2 separate regions of the Homo sapiens genome follow, and region 2 is linked to region 1. Evidence: promoter capture Hi-C in 16 types of primary human blood cells and fetal thymus (Javierre and others, 2016). All regions are on one chromosome and are shown on one strand. Each heading gives the region's core, a stretch centred on a gene start or on the middle of the fragment in contact. The rest is flanking DNA. Distances are from core to core; before and after follow the strand shown.

Evidence for each region. The method cuts DNA at HindIII sites, captures the fragments that hold promoters and counts their contacts. A CHiCAGO score of 5 or more calls a contact.
Region 2: a fragment that was not itself captured here is called in contact with the fragment with the promoter of FGB in region 1 in 1 of 17 cell types (activated CD4 T cells); the score reaches 5.3 in activated CD4 T cells.

The regions. Positions count from the first base shown.
Region 1 is chr4:154,561,411-154,566,754 of GRCh38, forward strand. FGB (fibrinogen beta chain) reads left to right here and starts at 1,601. Exons shown (of 8, transcript NM_005141.5): 1 at 1,601-1,722; 2 at 4,398-4,589; 3 at 5,079-5,262. The coding sequence starts at 1,609. The HindIII fragment of the contact is 2,847 bases long and covers 1,451-4,297 here.
Region 2 is chr4:155,317,945-155,322,961 of GRCh38, forward strand. No RefSeq gene overlaps it. Among named protein-coding and RNA genes, the nearest start is that of MAP9-AS1, 34 kb to the right of the region's middle. The HindIII fragment of the contact is 370 bases long and covers 1,374-1,743 here.

The DNA of each region.
Region 1 (5,344 bases), core at 351-2,850:
ACGTTACCTCAAAAGAAAAAAAAAAGGTTAGAGTTTTCTTAACAGATAATTCTTTTTAAATCTGTAAGAATCTGTACGTCACTAAAATAAAATCCTGTCTAGATTATTAAAATAAACTTTGTTATCAGTTATATTTTCATGGAAAATATTCCTGTATATATTTTAATTAATAGCCACATAGATATTTGCTTTTTCTGTCAGATCATGTATCCCTTTAAAAACCATTAAAGCTAAAGAAAAAAATCTTAAAATATAATATTTACTCATTGCTAATAAAGGGAACACAAATTTGGAAAGACTCAAGTGAATATTTTTTCTTAATTTAAACTGAGTACTTTGTCTCTATTAAGCTAAGTTAAAAGAATTTGGGAGGACAACCTATGCTACCAAGAGAATAATTTGTTTCTAGGAATCTGAGTTAAAAGAATTTGGGAATGCAATCTCTGCTACCTGGAGAAGAAAGAAATGTCGTGGGTCCCACACCATTCTCAAGACTCTGTTTCAAAGCATTGTTTCAATACGCTGATCCAAACCCTGATAACCTGCCATCTTTTTAATAAAATAATTTATAAATTTAATGAGAATGTTTCACTTTCCATACAAAAAACAGAAAAATGCTTTGAATCAATGCACTTACTGGGATTTGGATTACTGACTGGTGTTCCTATTGATTCTTGTAGGAGTTATTAATCCTGATTGCAACACACAAGTGAACAGACAAGAGAGATAAATTTTGTGGCTTGTGGGAAATGAAGGAAAATGGGCCTCATTTAGTCTGTGAGCATACTAATTGAAATAGATGTATGAAGACTTCACCAGTGTTAAAATAACATTGTTTTTATAAATCATATGATATAAACTATATAACAATAAAATAGAATGTTAAACATGTATTTAATCATCATCATAATTTTGATTCAGAAATCTATAATTTATTAGTTATCTTAATAATGTTTAGAATTTGTTGAACATTTTACCTTATGTGAATTAAGGACAAAATATTAAAGCTATTCAGCACAAAAAAAGGGTCTTTCTGATGTGTATTTTTCATAGAATAGGGTATGAATTTGTTATTTTGTTATTTTGATTAATGTCTAAAACAAAAGATAAACACATTATGATATAACATTACTATTGATTTTAATGGCCCCTTTTGAAATAGAATTATGTCATTGTCAGAAAACATAAGCATTTATGGTATATCATTAATGAGTCACGATTTTAGTGGTTGCCTTGTGAGTAGGTCAAATTTACTAAGCTTAGATTTGTTTTCTCACATATTCTTTCGGAGCTTGTGTAGTTTCCACATTAATTTACCAGAAACAAGATACACATCTCTCTTTGAGGAGTGCCCTAACTTCCCATCATTTTGTCCAATTAAATGAATTGAAGAAATTTAATGTTTCTAAACTAGACCAACAAAGAATAATAGTTGTATGACAAGTAAATAAGCTTTGCTGGGAAGATGTTGCTTAAATGATAAAATGGTTCAGCCAACAAGTGAACCAAAAATTAAATATTAACTAAGGAAAGGTAACCATTTCTGAAGTCATTCCTAGCAGAGGACTCAGATATATATAGGATTGAAGATCTCTCAGTTAAGTCTACATGAAAAGGATGGTTTCTTGGAGCTTCCACAAACTTAAAACCATGAAACATCTATTATTGCTACTATTGTGTGTTTTTCTAGTTAAGTCCCAAGGTGTCAACGACAATGAGGAGGTGAATTTTTTAAAGCATTATTATATTATTAGTAGTATTATTAATATAAGATGTAACATAATCATATTATGTGCTTATTTTAATGAAATTAGCATTGCTTATAGTTATGAAATGGAATTGTTAACCTCTGACTTATTGTATTTAAAGAATGTTTCATAGTATTTCTTATATAAAAACAAAGTAATTTCTTGTTTTCTAGTTTATCACCTTTGTTTTCTTAAGATGAGGATGGCTTAGCTAATGTAAGATGTGTTTTTCTCACTTGCTATTCTGAGTACTGTGATTTTCATTTACTTCTAGCAATACAGGATTACAATTAAGAGGACAAGATCTGAAAATCTCACAAACTATAAAATAATAAAAGAGCAGAATTTTAAGATAAAAGAAACTGGTGGTAGGTAGATTGTTCTTTGGTGAAGGAAGGTAATATATATTGTTACTGAGATTACTATTTATAAAAATTATAACTAAGCCTAAAAGCAAAATACATCAAGTGTAATGATAGAAAATGAAATATTGCTTTTTTCAGATGAAAAGTTCAAATTAGAGTTAGTGTGTATTGTTATTATTAATAGTTATGAAACACGGTTCAGTCTAATTTATTTATTTGTAGAACAGTTTGTCCTCAACTATTATTTTTGCTGACTTATTGCTGTTAATTTGCAGTTACTAAAAATACAGAAATGCATTTAGGACAATGGATATTTAAGAAATTTAAATTTTATCATCAAACGTATCATGGCCAAATTTCTTACATATAGCATAGTATCATTAAACTAGAAATAAGAATACACAATAATATTTAAATGAAGTGATTCATTTCGGATCATTATTGAGTTTCAAGGGAACTTGAGTGTTGTACTTATCAGACTCTACATGTAAGAACATATAGTTAATCTGGTTGTGTGTGTAAAAACATATGGTTAATCTGGTTAAGTCTGGTTAATCATATTAGGTAAGAAAAATGTAAAGAATGTGTAAGACGAAATTTTTGTAAAGTACTCTGCAAAGCACTTTCACATTTCTGCTTATCAACTAAACCTCACAGAGATAGTTTAATAGTTTAGGCTTTAAAATGGATTTTGATTATTCAACAAGTGGCCTTCATAATTTCTTTAAGTGTTTTTCTTTAAGTATATACTTTCTTTAAATATTTTTTAAAATTTCCTTTTCTCTAGTAAAGCCAGACCATCCATGCTACCTCTCTAGTGGCACTCTGAAATAAAAAGAAAATAGTTTTCTCTGTTATAATTGTATTTGTAATAAGCAGATGAATCACATTTCTTAAAATTTGTTTTAGAGAGGGTAAGCTCTGACTAGGACCATGACTTCAATGTGAAATATGTATATATCCTCCGAATCTTTACATATTAAGAATGTATATAGTCAACTGGTTAAACAGGAAAATCTGGAACCAGCCTGGCTGGGTTTTAATCTTAGCACCATCCTACTAAATGTTAAATAATATTATAATCTAATGAATAAATGACAATGCAATTCCAAATAGAGTTCATCTGATGACTTCTAGACTCACAAAATTGCAAGAGAGCTCAGTTGTTGCTCAGTTGTTCCAAATCATGTCGTTTGTTAATTTGTAATTAAGCTCCAAAGGATGTATAGCTACTGACAAAAAAAAAAATGAGAATGTAGTTAATCCAAATCAAAACTTTCCTATTGCAATGCGTATTTTCTGCTTCATTATCCTTTAATATAATATTTTAAGTTAGCAAGTAATTTTAATTACAATGCACAAGCCTTGAGAATTATTTTAAATATAAGAAAATCATAATGTTTGATAAAGAAATCATGTAAGAAATTTCAAGATAATGGTTTAACAAATAATTTTGTTGATAGAAGATAAGACTAAAAGTGAAATTCGAAGTGGAGAGGACACTTAAACTGTAGTACTTGTTATGTGTGATTCCAGTAAAAATAGTAATGAGCACTTATTATTGCCAAGTACTGTTCTGAGGGTACCATATGCAATAAGTTATTTAATCCTTACAATAATCTTGTAAGGCAGATTCAAACTATCATTACACTTATTTTACAGATGAGAAAACTGGGGCACAGATAAAGCAACTTGCCCAAGGTCTCATAGCTGTAAGTCAACCCTACGGTCAAGACCTACAAGTAGCCGAGCTCCAGAGTACATTATGAGGGTCAAAGATTGTCTTATTACAAATAAATTCCAAGTAGAATCAACCTTTAATAAGTCTTTAATGTCTCTTAAATATGTTTATATAGGAGTCTAATCACCAATTCACAAAAATGAAAGTAGGGAAATGATTAACAATAATCATAGGAATCTAACAATCCAAGTGGCTTGAGAATATTCATTCTTCTTGACAGTATAGATTCTTTACAATTTCGTAAGTTCCAATGTATGTTTTAGGAATATGAGGTCATTACTATTCATAATCTGATACAGCTTTATCCTAAGGCCTCTCTTTAAAAACTACACTGCATCATAGCTTTTTTGTGCAGTTGGTCTTTCTACTGTTACTGAACAGTAAGCAACCTACAGATTCACTATCACCAACCAGCCAGTTGATGGATCTTAAGCAAATTATCAAGCTTGTGATAACCTAAATTATAAAATGAGGGTGTTGGAATAGTTACATTCCAAATCTTCTATAACACTCTGTATTATATTTCTGCCTCATTCCTTGTAGGGTTTCTTCAGTGCCCGTGGTCATCGACCCCTTGACAAGAAGAGAGAAGAGGCTCCCAGCCTGAGGCCTGCCCCACCGCCCATCAGTGGAGGTGGCTATCGGGCTCGTCCAGCCAAAGCAGCTGCCACTCAAAAGAAAGTAGAAAGAAAAGCCCCTGATGCTGGAGGCTGTCTTCACGCTGACCCAGACCTGGTGGGTGCACTGATGTTTCTTGCAGTGGTGGCTCTCTCATGCAGAGAAAGCCTGTAGTCATGGCAGTCTGCTAATGTTTCACTGACCCACATTACCATCACTGTTATTTTGTTTGTTTATTTTGGAAATAAAATTCAAAACATAAACATATTGGGCCTTTGGTTTAGGCTTTCTTTCTTGTTTTCTTTGGTCTGGGCCCAAAATTTCAAATTAGGATATGTGGGTGCCACCTTTCCATTTGTATTTTGCCACTGCCTTTGTTTAGTTGGTAAAATTTTCATAGCCCAATTATATTTTTTCTGGGGTAAGTAATATTTTAAATCTCTATGAGAGTATGATGATGACTTTCGAATTTCTGGTCTTACAGAAAACCAAATAATAAATTTTTATGTTGGCTAATCGTATCGCTGAATTTTCCTATGTGCTATTTTAACAAATGTCCATGACCCAAATCCTTCATCTAATGCCTGCTATTTTCTTTGTTTTTAGGGGGTGTTGTGTCCTACAGGATGTCAGTTGCAAGAGGCTTTGCTACAACAGGAAAGGCCAATCAGAAATAGTGTTGATGAGTTAAATAACAATGTGGAAGCTGTTTCCCAGACCTCCTCTTCTTCCTTTCAGTACATGTATTTGCTGAAAGACCTGTGGCAAAAGAGGCAGAAGCAAGTAAAAGGTAGATATCCTTGTGCTTTCCATTCGATTTTCAGCTATAAAATTGGAACCGTTAGACTGCCACGAGAATGCATGGTTGTGAG
Region 2 (5,017 bases), core at 309-2,808, 760 kb after region 1:
ATATCTTCATACCTTTCTAGAACCCTTTTCACTGCTTGTCCTGCCTACATAGATTTATATAATTTGGTTCTTTAGGGGTTTCCCTCTTTTTCAATAGCCCTCTGCTATTATGGCCTCAGGGATAATTTACTTCTGTGTAAAGTCACCCATGTGCTCCTTTCTTTTTAAATGCCTAAATCTCTCTGGTCATAACTTGTATGTCTCTCTGCCACGCTTCCACAGTGGGAAGGACAGATTTCCATAATAAGGCTGAACTAAAACTGGCCTCCTAGTTGCATTCTTTCCTGATAAAAGTGTTCTTCTTTCTAATGCCATTAAATATTTCCCTTGGCTGCAACACTGTATTTTACTGTTTGAACATGCATTAAATATGCCTTCTTTCTTTCTTTCTTTTTTTTTTTGAGACGGAGTCTTGCTCTGTTGCCCAGGCTGGAGTGCAGTGACACAGTCTTGGCTCACTGCAAGCTCTGCCTCCTGGGTTCACGCCATTCTCCTGTCTCAGCCTCCCGAGTAGCTGGGACTACAGGTGCCCACCACCACGCCTGGCTAATTTTTGTATTTTTTAGTACAGACGAGGCTTCACCTTGTTAGCCAGGGTGGTCTCGATCTCCTGACCTCCTGATCCACCTGCCTTGTCCTCCCAAAGTGCTGGGATTACAGGCGTGAGCCACCGTGCCTGGCCCCTTCTGTCTTTATTATAGGAGATATTATTATTTCCGTGATAGTTCAGGAACCAAGTCTCAGAGGAATATAGGGGTGGGTTAGACTGGGTGTTGCTCACTCTTGTGATGAGTTCCAGACAGATGACCCTGTAAAAAGCATTACTGGACCACCCAGAAGGCACAGCCTAAGAAGGCCATCCTTCTGGGAATGTTGCCACACCTTTCAATGAGCTACAGAGCTAACCCATGGTAACAATTGGTATGGAGGCACACTGTCTTATTCTACCTGAGAAACAGGCATAATAAAACTGTAGAATTCCACTTAGCCTGTTGTATCACATACTATTTAGTTTTTTTCCTGAAGCCTACCTACCTTCTCCCTCTCAATTTTTGGATTTTTTTATCAGCTACTCTGTCCTTTTCATTTTTCCTGGACTTTCTCTATTCCTCATTTTTGTTTTTATGAAAGCATGGCCTTTTAAAATGCCCACATATAACACTCTTAAGTTCACCAGATAAAACAATAACAATAATTACAAAAGGTTTCACTTATTGCGAATGCTTTATGTATATTAATACACTGTATAATCTTTGTAGCAAATTCATGATATTAGATTGCTTTTCTTTTTCCCCATTTTACTGAGCTAAACTGAAAATTAGAGAATTAGCAAGTTGTTCAAAGCCACATAGCTAATAAAAGGCAGGATTCAAAGCTTGGTCCAATTGACTCGAGAAGACATGATTTATGGATCCAATAAATAACGAGTGAGTGCATTGGTGATAGAGACACAACAATGACAAAACAGGCTGATCACTCACCTCACAGAGCTTACATTCCTCTGGAGTGTCAAAGAAACATTACACCAGACATATTAAGCAGGGAAGGAAGACTTTATTCAAGACTATTGCAATAGAAGAGAGAGAGAGAGAAAGAGAGAGAGAAAATGAACTCAACTCCCGTAACACAGAACCCTGGAGTGTTTTTCTTATGGGGATGAACAAGTAGAAAAGTATTGGAGGAACTTAAGGTGTCTATGTGGTCAGATCATTTGTGTTGCTAATTTGGCACTTATGGAAGTTAAGCTTCTACCTTACCCCAGAGACTGGAAGATAGGGATGCAATTTTTCTTGATGATTGCACTGCAAAGGAATGAATCCCAGGTACTTAAGAAAGACATTCCTGGATTGTCAAACTGATAAAAGGCTGGGAGAAGATTTACATTTCAAAAGGGCAGAGAAAGAATTTACAACAGCAAATTTTCTACTGTAAATGCTTGAAGAAAAGGAAGATGGGACATCAACAGTCAAGAAGAAATCTGTCTAAAGTTTAGTCAAGCTAAAGAAATCATTAAGATCATCTTGGTCAGGAGAGAGACAAAAATATGTAGTGAATGTCCTATCAAGCAGGATACAGATGTTGCGGTGGGGGAGTTTCTATTTTATGTGGTTATGTGACTTTGTCCTAGTTTCTATCTAGAATAGAGGTTTTAAGCTCCCAGTTCCTGATTTATGGAGAAGCTAGTTGATATTAAGGGGAAATATTTCCTGAAGACAAAAACATTACTACTGACTTGGTCTTTACTAGAATACACACTGCCAGATTGGTTCTCCTGATTTATCCCCTGATCCCAGGGCTTTTCAGCCATTATATTCAATGCACATTATTTTCGGACCATTAGCATAAGCAAATAGGCTACTATTGACCACCCTGACCGTCTTCTCCCACCCCAAGTTTCTATACCATCTAACCCAAGACCTTGTTATAACCGTCTCTTAGATAACATGGCTATCTTCTCGTTCTCCTTAAAGAAAACATCCCAAGGCACTTCAGCTCCCTCCTACCCCTTCCAAATCTGGCATATTTGCCTAATAAGCCTAAATATACAGTGTTCATGTATTCCATTTTCTGGATAATAGCATTATTTATGCAATCTCTAAAAGACAGAAAAGACACTTCAGCACTTTAAAAAGTAATGTCCCCACTTGGGTAATCAAGCAGACTTTTTAGGAGCCCTCTCACTGGCTAAATCCGGAAGAGCAACTGCCTAATAGCAAATGTAATCTCCAGCAGGGCACCTCTATGCCATTATACTATTCTTATTATCCTTTTTTTGTCAAAAAAATTTTACAAAGCTACATTTCAAACATAAGAAGACTGAGGCTTAAAGATTTTTATTCAAGCCACGTAGCTATTAAGCAGGAGAACTGAGATGTAAACCCAGGTTATTTTAATTCCAAAGATGTGTTCTTTGAAATTTTTGTTTCCATTATTACATGCTACTACCAATCAAGTTTTATTTTTGGGGATAGGGGAATAAAACCTAAATATTATGACTTTTATTTGTTCATGGAAAACATAGGCATTTTTAATGATATCGCAATGAAACATAAGAAATATTATTCTGGTCTAATGTAGGGTTTCTCATGGGGTTCAATAATTATTACTGAGTTCTCTATTCAAATGTTCTTTTCATAATAGATCACTTGGGAAAAGGCTAAATGATATCAATTAGTCATTTTTATTTCAACATTAGGAGGAACTATTTTACCAGCTTATTCTTTTCCTTTGTGGCTTTATAGGCTCCATCCATCTTGTTCTCTTTAGAGATAAGAATATTGCAGAAAATGGAGAGTACCACAGGGCAAATTTCAATTACTCTGTGGAATATTAGCTATTTTACCTTGTTTGCTTAAGAGGTTTTTTTTCTGATTAAAGAATTATAATTTAAAAGGCAGAAGTAACTGTTCCTTTCATATTACTTCACAGTTCATCTCTCTTCTCTCTGGGGCTGACTTATGCCCACAAGGCTGATTCTAATTCCTTTTTTTTTTTTTTTTTTTAAGACAGAGTTTCTCTCTTGACACCTAGGCTGGAATGCAATGGCGCAATCTCAGCTGACTGCAACCTCCACCTCCGAGGTTCAAGCAATTCTCCTGCCTCAGCCTCCTGAGTAACTGGGATTACAGGCGCCCGCCACCACACCTGGCTAATTTTTGTATTTTTAGTGGAGATGGGGTTTCACCAAGTTGGCCAGGCTGGTCTCAAACTCCTGAGCTCAAGTGATCCACCCGCCTAGGCTTCCCAAAGTGCTGGAACTATAAGCGTGAGCCACCTTGCCCAGCTGGCAGTTTCTAATTCTTTTCTTGGGGAATAATAGTTGGTGTATCCCTTTGAAAAACTGGTCATGCATCATTGTACTTCTGTCTCCCACCTTTTTACCCTAGAATTTATTCTGAATATTTCAGAAAATTCAGACTACATCTTCTATAGAGGAATGGGGTTTGAAAAATGAAAACCCAGGCACTTGTATAGACATAGGAACATCCAAGATGTACTCATGGAGATAGTGCTGTGGCTGCTATATTTCGGATGCTCTGTTCTGCTGCAGCTATGAGCCTACTGAGGCTTTGAGCCTTACTTGTCATTGGCTTATCCCTGCTCGAATGGGAGTAGAAAGATGTGAGATCCTTAGGGCACCTCAGTGTAGCCCTGCTACACAAGATTCTCCATTATGGCACCAGTTAGAGGGAAAGTGTGAAACTCTCTAACTCAGGAGATATTTAACGATCAGTATCAGTGCTGTGTATTTGAGAGGGTGGCCTCTGGGTTCTTTCAGGAATGGTTGGTTGACATGATTGAATCACACAATTTCACAAGGAGATGGACCGTAAAAGGCTACACAGTACAATCATTGTCAAACTCCAGAACTACTAAAAAAGTCACTCAGGGATGAGAGTTAAACATTCAAATTCCTATATCATATCCTGATAACAATAAGTTTCCCTGGGTGTCTCCAGAGTCTGTCTGGTCATAAACTTCTTAAGTATTTCTTAGTTAGCTCTGAAACTCAAAAAGTATTTGACTAAATGGTGAAATGGTGCAATGTACCTTTAAAAATTTGAAAATGACAACAAATAATTCCTGAATGATTTTATTAATAATAGTCTGCTAAAACCTAACCAGATGTTAACTTCTATAGATTAAAAACTTATTCTGTTTTCTCCTGAATGGATGGATTCCTACCTGATTTGATTTTTCCTTGCACAGACATTCTGTGGCTGTGTCCCTCGTGGGAGGACATGAAAAGATGGCCATTCTAGAGAACAGATTCTGTTGTGGTGAAGGGTACCTTTGCTCCTCTGACTGGATGCAGATATCACAGTCTGTAGGAGGCAAGGAAAGCTCTGCTTTTAGCCTCACTATCCTCTCACCCTTCAAATTCTTGACAGAGTGCATCTGAAAAGTAAAATAATTGTTTCCCTCATGACTGCAGCACAGATGAAATGAAAAAGACTGGCCTTTCCCCGACTCCTGAGTAATTAATTTAGTCTAATGTGTCTGTTCTAGCATCCAA